Linked DNA regions of Homo sapiens: region 2 is linked to region 1. Evidence: promoter capture Hi-C in human tissues and cell types (Jung and others, 2019). All regions are on one chromosome and are shown on one strand. Each heading gives the region's core, a stretch centred on a gene start or on the middle of the fragment in contact. The rest is flanking DNA. Distances are from core to core; before and after follow the strand shown.

What was found. The method cuts DNA at HindIII sites, captures the fragments that hold promoters and counts their contacts. A contact is called where the count stands out against the background at its distance.
Region 2: a fragment that was not itself captured here is called in contact with the fragment with the promoter of PLIN5 in region 1 in 3 of the 25 tissues and cell types used here (dorsolateral prefrontal cortex, lymphoblastoid cells and spleen).

What each region holds. Positions count from the first base shown.
Region 1 is chr19:4,533,974-4,538,064 of GRCh38, forward strand. PLIN5 (perilipin 5) reads right to left here and starts at 1,251. Exons shown (of 8, transcript NM_001013706.3): 1 at 1,192-1,251; 2 at 42-122. The coding sequence starts at 101. It overlaps LRG1 (leucine rich alpha-2-glycoprotein 1), which reads right to left. Exons shown (of 2, transcript NM_052972.3): 2 at 2,429-4,091. The coding sequence ends at 3,967. RefSeq lists an enhancer at 402-957. The HindIII fragment of the contact is 58,476 bases long and covers 1-4,091 here.
Region 2 is chr19:4,988,161-4,992,251 of GRCh38, forward strand. All of the region lies in intron 1 of KDM4B (lysine demethylase 4B), which reads left to right. Among named protein-coding and RNA genes, the nearest start is that of KDM4B, 21 kb to the left of the region's middle. RefSeq lists enhancers at 381-886, 887-1,391, 1,608-2,109, 2,110-2,609. The HindIII fragment of the contact is 6,577 bases long and covers 1-4,091 here.

The DNA of each region.
Region 1 (4,091 bases), core at 1-2,500:
AATACCTTCTGTCCCTGCTCCATGGGAGGGGCAGCCCTCACCTGCTGGTCCTGCTCCCACACACTGGATCTGGGGATCTGAGCCGCCTCTTCTTCAGACATCGTGCTGCAAACAGGGTCACCCTGCGGGGCAGGATTGAGTAAGGGGAGCACCTGCCCAGGCATCAGATCCTGTCAAATTGGGCTCTGTGACTTGAGCAACTCTCAAACCTCTTGGGGCCTCAGTTTCTTCATCTGCATAATGGGGCATTCTGTGGAGCTCAGACAATGCATGTCCAGAGCTCTGTACACAGAGGGTGTCCAATAATGAGCCTCTGGCAAGGTAGGGTTGCCGGAGTGACTCGAAGCATGGTCTCTGAGGTGAGAAAGACCTGGGTTCAAATGCTACCATTAATTGCGGTGTTATTTTTATTATTTTTTTAAAGACAGAATCTCTCTCGCCCAGGCTGGAGAGCAGTGGCGCCATCCCAGCTCACTGCAATTTCCGCCTCCCAGGTTCAAGTGATTCTCCTGCTTCAGCCTCCCAGTTAGCTGGGATTACCCACGTGCCACCATGCTCGGCTAATTTTTGTATTTTTAGTAGAAACCGGGTTTCGCCATGTTGCCCAGGCTGGTCTCAAACTCCTGGGCTCAAGTGATCTGCCCACCTCGGCCTCCCAAAGTGCTGGGATTACAGGCATGAGACACTGCACCTGGCCAGCTGTGTGATTTTTGGCAAGCACCTTCACCTCTCTGGGCTGCTTCCTGTTTTGTAAGATGTGGGAGGTCCCTGCTACCCCTGCGGCCCCTGCCTGGGCCCAGAACTGCCCAAGCACCCTAGACGGCTGGAGGTGGTAGCTGCTGGGTCCCAGTCCACTCACAGCTCATTTGACAGACAGGGCAACTGAGGTACGCAGCAGGTCCATGCTGGTCCCAAGGTCACGCAGCCAGCTAGAGTTACAGGGGGGGAGCTCGACCTCGGGCCTCAGACCTGCCGCCTGCGATCCCTCCGGTTGCCACCCCGCGTCCTCTGAGGCCTGGTCCTCGCCCAACTGGGTCCTGAGCTGGGGCCAACCGGGCCAAGGGTCCCAGCCACCTGCTCTGGCCGGTCATACCCGTCCCACGCCGCCGGACCTTCGCCCAACCACCCTATCTGGAGCTCCTCTCCTAAGCCCGGGGGGGCGCTCCCGGACGCCGCCCTCAGGGCACTCACCTGGGCGCGAGCGGCTTCAGACACCAGCTGTCTCCGCCGACCCCAGGCTCGAGTCTCCACACCCCCGCCGGTCCCGCCCGCCCTTCTTATAGCTGCTCGCGCAGTGGGGGCCTCCGGAACTGACCAATGGGGAGAGGCCGTGCGGGGGCGTGCCCAGGGGGCGTGGCTCCAGGCTTCCCTCGCCCTCTCCTTGAGCTGGCCCAGTGCCCTACGGTTGCCATAGTAATTCGGGAGCGCTAGATTCAAAAGATTGAGCTATTATACGTTCCCGGACCAAGTTTGGCCACCTGTCATCCTCACTGCTGTTGCCATAGAGACAGTCCATGCGATCACAGCCCCCATAGCCCTGCTGAGTGACCTTGGCCAACTCGCTGATGACTTTTCTTATTAATTATTATTATTTATCGATTTTTGAGACTGGGTCTTGCTCGGTTGCCCAGGGCTAGAGTGCAGTGGTGTGATCATAGCTCACTGCAGCCTTGCCCTCCCAGGCTGAGGTGATCCTCCCGCCTCAGTCTCCTAAGTAGCTGGGACCACAGGCACACACCACCACCCCCAGCTAACTTTTTAAACTTTTTGTAGAGACGAGATGTCCCTGTGTTGACCAGGCTTGTCTTCAACCCCTGAGCCCCAAGTGATCCTTCCACCTCAGCCTTCCAAATTGCTGGGATTACAGGTGTGAGCCATTGCACCCAGCCTCTTTTTATTTCTTAATCTGCCCCTTAACTAAGCCAGAAGCCAGGCCTTCCCTTTCCCTAGGATCCCCATTTCACAGATGAGCAAGCTGAGGCTCAGAGATCATAAAACACTTGCCCCGCATACCACAGCAAGTGAGGGATCCTATTCCTTTTTTTTCTTTTTTTTTTTTTGAGACAGAGTCTGACTCTGTCGCCCAGGCTGGAGTGCAGTGGCGCGATCTTGACACACTGCAACCTCCGCCCCCTGGGTTCAAGTGATTCTCCTGCCTCGGCCTCCGGAGTAGCTGGGATTACAGGCGCCTGCCACCACACCTAGCTAATTTTTGTATTTTTAGTAGAGACGGGGTGTCACCATATTCGTCAGGCTGGTCTTGGACTCCTGACCTCGTGATTTGCCTGCCTTGGCCTCCCAAAGTACTAGGATTACAGGCATGAGCCACCGTGCCCGGCCAGGGATCCTATTCAAACCCAGCCCTGCTGGACCTCAGAACCCTGCCTTTTCATTGCCTTGCCTGGAATGACCACAGATGTAGGCATGGTCTTTTTATTTTTATTTTTATTTTTGAGACACAGTTTCACTCTGTCGCCCAGCCTGGAGTGCAGTGGCGTGATCTTGGCTCACTGCAACCTCCGCCTCCCAGGTTCAAGTGATTCTCCTGCCTGACCCTCCCAAGTAGCTGGTATTACAGGCACGTGCCACTGTGCCTGGCTAATTTTTGTATTTTTAGTAGAGACAGGGTTTTGCCATGTTGGCCAGTCTGGTCTCGAACTCCTGACCTCCGGTGATCTGCCTGCCTCAGCCTCCCAAAGTGTTTGGATTACAGGCATGAGCCACGGCGCCAGGCTGCATGGTCATTTTTTAGGGAGCTGGGAAAACTGGACATGCCCCCAAGCCCCAGGGTCTTCCAAATCCGATTGCAGCCCCCACATGGCCAATGCTGTATCAGCAGGTGGGCCCGGGACCCTGCTCATCCCTTCAGCCCCATCCTGCCCCTGCAACCTTGCCCGGGGGCAGGTGCCCCCTTCGATGATCTCAGGTCAGCATGACAAATCGTTTGGAGACCTGGGCAATCTGGTTTAACTTAAACCTTCTCCTAGGACACAAGCCCTGGCAGAAATCCACTGGTAAAATGACACCCGGGCAACAGTCAAGGTTTTATTTCCAGTTAGGTCCCAGGATGGGGGAAGGGAGAGGAGAAGTCACAGGCCATTGATCCCAACTGTCATCCCCTAGGGAGACCATATCCCACACCCCAGGGCCTGGGCCATGCCTCTTTTCCTCCTTCACCCTGGAGTCCTGGGAAGTTGATTTGAGAAGATGCTAGGAACACAATGAAAGCCAATTCATCCGATCCAGTTTTCAAGGGTTATTTATTAAACCCCTTGGTTCTGACCCCAAGCTAAGTGGGACTCAGCATCAGACCCTGCACTCAGAGAGCCCCCTGACTTGGGGAAGACAGAGTCAGAGAAAGGCAGCCCCAGTGTGGCCAGGGCTCAGCTGGAAGGAAGGACAAGGGGCTGGGAGAACCCAGAGTTCAAGAGATCTGGGAAACAGGGAACGGCATTCCAGACGGAGGGCACACCTTGGGCATGGGTAAGGAAAGCCCATCGTGTGTTCTAGGAAGCATGGATGGATGAAACGGGGTCCCAGCCGCTATGGACAGCCCCGAGTTTCACCTGTAAAAGGCAGGATTATTTGTTTTTAATTTTAATTTTAATTTTTTTGAGACAGTCTTGCTCTGTCGCCCAGGCTAGAGTGCAGTGGCACGATCTTGGCTCACCGCAAGCTCCGCCTCCCAAGTTCACGCCATTCTCCTGCCTCAGCCTCCCGAGTTGCTGGGACTACAGGTGCCCACCACCACGCCTGGCTAATTTTTTATATTTTTAGTAGAGACAGGGTTTCACCATGTTAGCCAAGATGGTCTCGATCTCCTGACCTCGTGATCCGCCCACCTGGGCCTCCCAAAGTGCTGGGATTACAGGCGTGAGCCCCCGCACCCGGCCAAAGGCAGGATTATTTGTTAAGCGGGTTGCAGTGTTCTACCAGACCCCCCACCCTCAACCCAAGCCCCTGGTCTCACTGGGACTTGGCCACTGCCAGGAGCGTCTGGCCCTTCACGGCTTCAGGCCCAGCACAGCGCGTGTCATTCTGGGAAAACATCTTGTCTTTTTGGGCCTGAAGCCAACGATAGAGGTCGCTCA
Region 2 (4,091 bases), core at 784-3,283, 450 kb after region 1:
AGGCTGCGGGCTCCTCCCCACGTACCTAACCCCACGGCCCATGCCAGTCACAAGCCCCAGGCTGTGTCCTGAGCTTCTGCTGGACGCGCTGGAAACCAGCCTTCTCATGAACCCTTCTTTTTTTTTCTTTTTTGAGACGGAGTCTTGTTGTGTTTCCCAGGCTGGAGTGCAGTGGTGCGATCTAGGCTCACTGCAAGCTCCGCCTCCTGGGTTCACGCCATTCTCCTGCCTCAGCCTCCGGAGTAGCTGGGACTACAGGTGCCCGCCACCACGCCCGGCTAATTTTTTGTATTTTTAGTAGAGACGGGGTTTCACCATGTTAGCCAGGATGGTCTCAATCTCCTGACCTCGTGATCCACCCGCCTCGGCTTCCCAAAGTGCTGGGATTACAGGCATGAGCCACCGTGCCCGGCCTCATGAACCCTTCTTTGAGCTTAATTTGCTAATGCACCTCTCAAAACTCAGGGGAGCTGTTACTTACGTTTACCAGCTTATTAGAAAGGATTTTACAAAGGAGGCAGATGAAGACATGTGTAGGGTGAGGGATGTGGGAAGGGGCACAGAGGGTTCCGTGCTCTCCCCGGGCTGTGACGTCTCCAGGAACCTCCACGCATTCATCTGTGGGGAAGCTTCCATCCCAGTCCTCCGGGTTTTACCTCAGCTTCCTCGCAGAGGCTTGGGTGACCTCACTGCATTGGCCTGGGTGATCAAGTCAGCCTTCAGCCACATGCCCCTCCCCTCCCGTCCAGCCTGGGTCTTTTCAGTGAGCAGCCCTATTCCCTCAGCTCCCGAGGGGCTGCCAAGCCCTTAGTCACCTCATTAGCACACTGGAGAATTCCGAGGATCTGGGGGAGTCGTAGGCCAGGAAACAGGACAAAATGTATTTCACAGTCTCACTGGGCCGGTCCCTTGCCTCCGCTTCCTTGTCTGTGATGAGAGGACGGGAGGGTGGCTGTCTGGACAGTGCTGAAGTGGTAGAGGTGAGTCGCTGCCGTGGAGGGCTTGGCAGGGTGCTCTGTGAAGGGCCCTGTGGCCTGGGGTGGAAGCCGCTTGCAGAGTGCTGGTTCTTTGCCTAAGGATGGTGGGGCAGGGGGGCCGTGTTCACACGTGCTGTTGGCTGTGTCTGCCAGTCTTCCTTTCTTTTTTCTGTTTCTGTTTCTTTTTCTTTGTTTTTTTTTGTTTGTTTGTTTGTTTTGAGACAGAGTCTTGCTCTGTCGCCCAGGCTGGAGTGCAGTGGCACGATCTTGGCTCACTGTAACCTCCGTCTCCCAGGTTCAAGCGATTCTCCTGCCTCAGCCTCCCCCAGTAGCTGGGATTACAGGCATGCACCACCACGCCCAGCTAATTTTTTTGTATTATTAGTAGAGACAGGGTTTTACCATGTTGGCCAGGCTAGTCTTGAACTCCTGACCTCAGGTGATCCGCCTGCCTCAGCCTCCCAAAGTGCTCGGATTACAGGCATGAGCCACCATGCCCAGTCTTCTTCTTCTTCTTCTTCTTTTTTTTTTGTGAGATGGAGTTTCACTTTGTTGTCCAGGCTGGAGTGCAAGGGCACGATTTTGGCTCACTGCAACCTCTGCCTTCTGGGTTCAAGCGATTCTCCTGCCTCAGCCTCCTAAGTAGCTGTGATTACAGGCATGCGCCACTGTGCCCGGCTAATTTTTGCATTTTTAGTAGAGATAGGGTTTCACCTTGTTCACCAGGCTGGTCTTGAACTCCTGACTTCAGGTGATCCACTCGCCTCGGCCTCTCCGAGTGCTGGGATTATAGGCGTGAGCCACGGTGTCTGACTCAGTCTTCCTTTTCATGTCATCCCTTGTTAATTTCCTTTAGAAACAGTTTGGGCCAGGTGCAGTGGGTGGCTTATGCCTGTCATCCAAGCGCTTTGGGGGGCTGAGGTGGGAGGATCACTTGAGGCCAGGAGTTCAAGACCAGGCTGGGCAACATAATGAGACCCAGTCTCTACAAAAAAATTAAAAGCTTAGCTGAGCATGGAGGTGGCACCTGTAATCCCAGCTACTTGGGAGGCTGAGGCAGAAGGATCGCTTGAACCCAGGAGGTTGAGGCTGCAGTGAGCCACGATTGCACCAGTGTGCTCCAGCCTGGGCAAAAGAGTGAGACCCTGTCCCCGCCCCACAAAAAGAGGGTCAGAACCTTGGTGTTAGAGCAGTTCACTTCCACCCAAAAACAGGGACTTAGAAAGGGAGACACTTGTGTGGAGCCCGAGGCAGACATGCCCTGACTTAGCAGTGCAGGTTTCTGTACTGGAATGAGGGCCTGGGGCAGGTGGCCTCTGGCAGGATGCATCTGTTACCTGAGTCTGAAGGCAGCGTGGCGAGGAGATGGGAGGGCTGTGCCTGGGATCCTGGGGCCGTGGAGAGCTCATCTAGAGGTCATGAGTATTGGGCAAAGCTCACATGCCGTGTTTTAATACTGTCATTATGGAAGTTGGCCTGGGGGTAATCCAGTGTCTCTTTTAGATCTGTGTTGTACAAACACTGAACTAGTTCTGGTCGCCTCTCCGGCCTTTGTTTTGGGGAGAATATTCGATGAGATGGCCCGTAATTCTAACACTGTGCATTTTGAAGGATATTTATAAACCCGGATGGATAAGGCCCTTCTTAGTGCTATTCTTGTGTTGGTTCCCTTTATTATTTTTTTTAAAAAACTTTATTATGGGCCGGGTATGATGGCTCACGCCTATAATCCCAGCACTTTGGGAGTCTGAGGTGGGCGGACCACCTGAGATCAGGAGTTCGAGACCAGCCTGACCAATATGGTGAAACCTCGTCTTTACTAAAAATACAAAAATTAGCTGGGCGTGATGGCGGGCGCCTGTAGTCCCAGCTACTAGGGAGGGGACAGGAGAATTGCTTGAACCCAGGAGGCGGAGGATGCAGTGAGCTGAGATTGTGCCGCTGCACTCCTGCCTGGGCGACAGAGTGAGACTCGGTCTCAAAAAATAGTAAAGCAAAAAATAAAAATAAAAACACTGTTATGGAGAATTTGACTACACAGAAAGGTAGACAACATGGAATAACGAGCCCCCCAGGCCCCTCACCCAGCCCCAAAACCATCAACCCATGGCAACCCCCCCTGCCCTACCCCCATCTGTGGTGAAATAGCCCTCATATTATTTTTGTTAACTTTTAATTTTTAAAGAATTACAGAGGCTGGGTGTGGTGGCTCACACCTGTCATCCAGGCACTTTGGGAGGCAGAGGTGGGAGGATCACTTGAGTCCAGTAGTTCGAGACCAGCCTGGGCAACACAGTGAGACCCTGTCGCTACAAAAGCAAAAATAAGAATGAATTATAGACTGCCAAGGTGTTGCAAAAATAATAAAGAGATTTCCCTAGGCTTCACCCTGCTGTCTCCAGTGGTAACATTTTACATAACTTTAGTGTCCCGTTAAAACTAGGAAATTGACACAGGACACTGTGGCTTCAGACCTTCCTCAGGCGTCCTCAGTGTTAGCACTGGCTCATTCTTTTGGTAGAGTCTTTGCGACATTCTGTTACCTGCACAGATTCCAGGAACCACCATTGCAATCAAGATACAGAACTGTTCTGTCAACACAAAGGAACGCTCTGCTTCTCCCTTCTGTCACCCCCAGGCCCTGGCGACGGCTGAGGATCTCTGCATCTCTGTAACCTTGCCCTTTTGAGAATGTTATGTAGATGGAATCACAGCGTATTTAACCTCTTGGGATTGGGTTTTTTCGCTTGCAATCTGTCGAAGTTGTTGTGTGTATCAGTAGTTACTTTCTTTTATTACTCAGTAGTTCTCCATACGGGTGTTGTTTTCTCATTCTGCTTATTTCTGTGAGACGGGTGGCAGTGGTAAGGTCCCATCTTTCATTCCCGATTTTAGCAATTTGAGTTCTCCAGAGATGGAGGACAAGATCCAAGGTTGCCAGGGCCTGGGGGCGACAGAGTGGAAGCAGAGTGAGTTCCTTTGTGTTGACGGAACAGCCCTGTATCTGATTGCAGTGGCGGTTCCAGGAATCTGTGCAGATAACAAAATGTCACGAAGACATTTACCTTCGACAGTTTTACTGGTCTTTTCAAGGGACCGACTTTTGGTTTCATT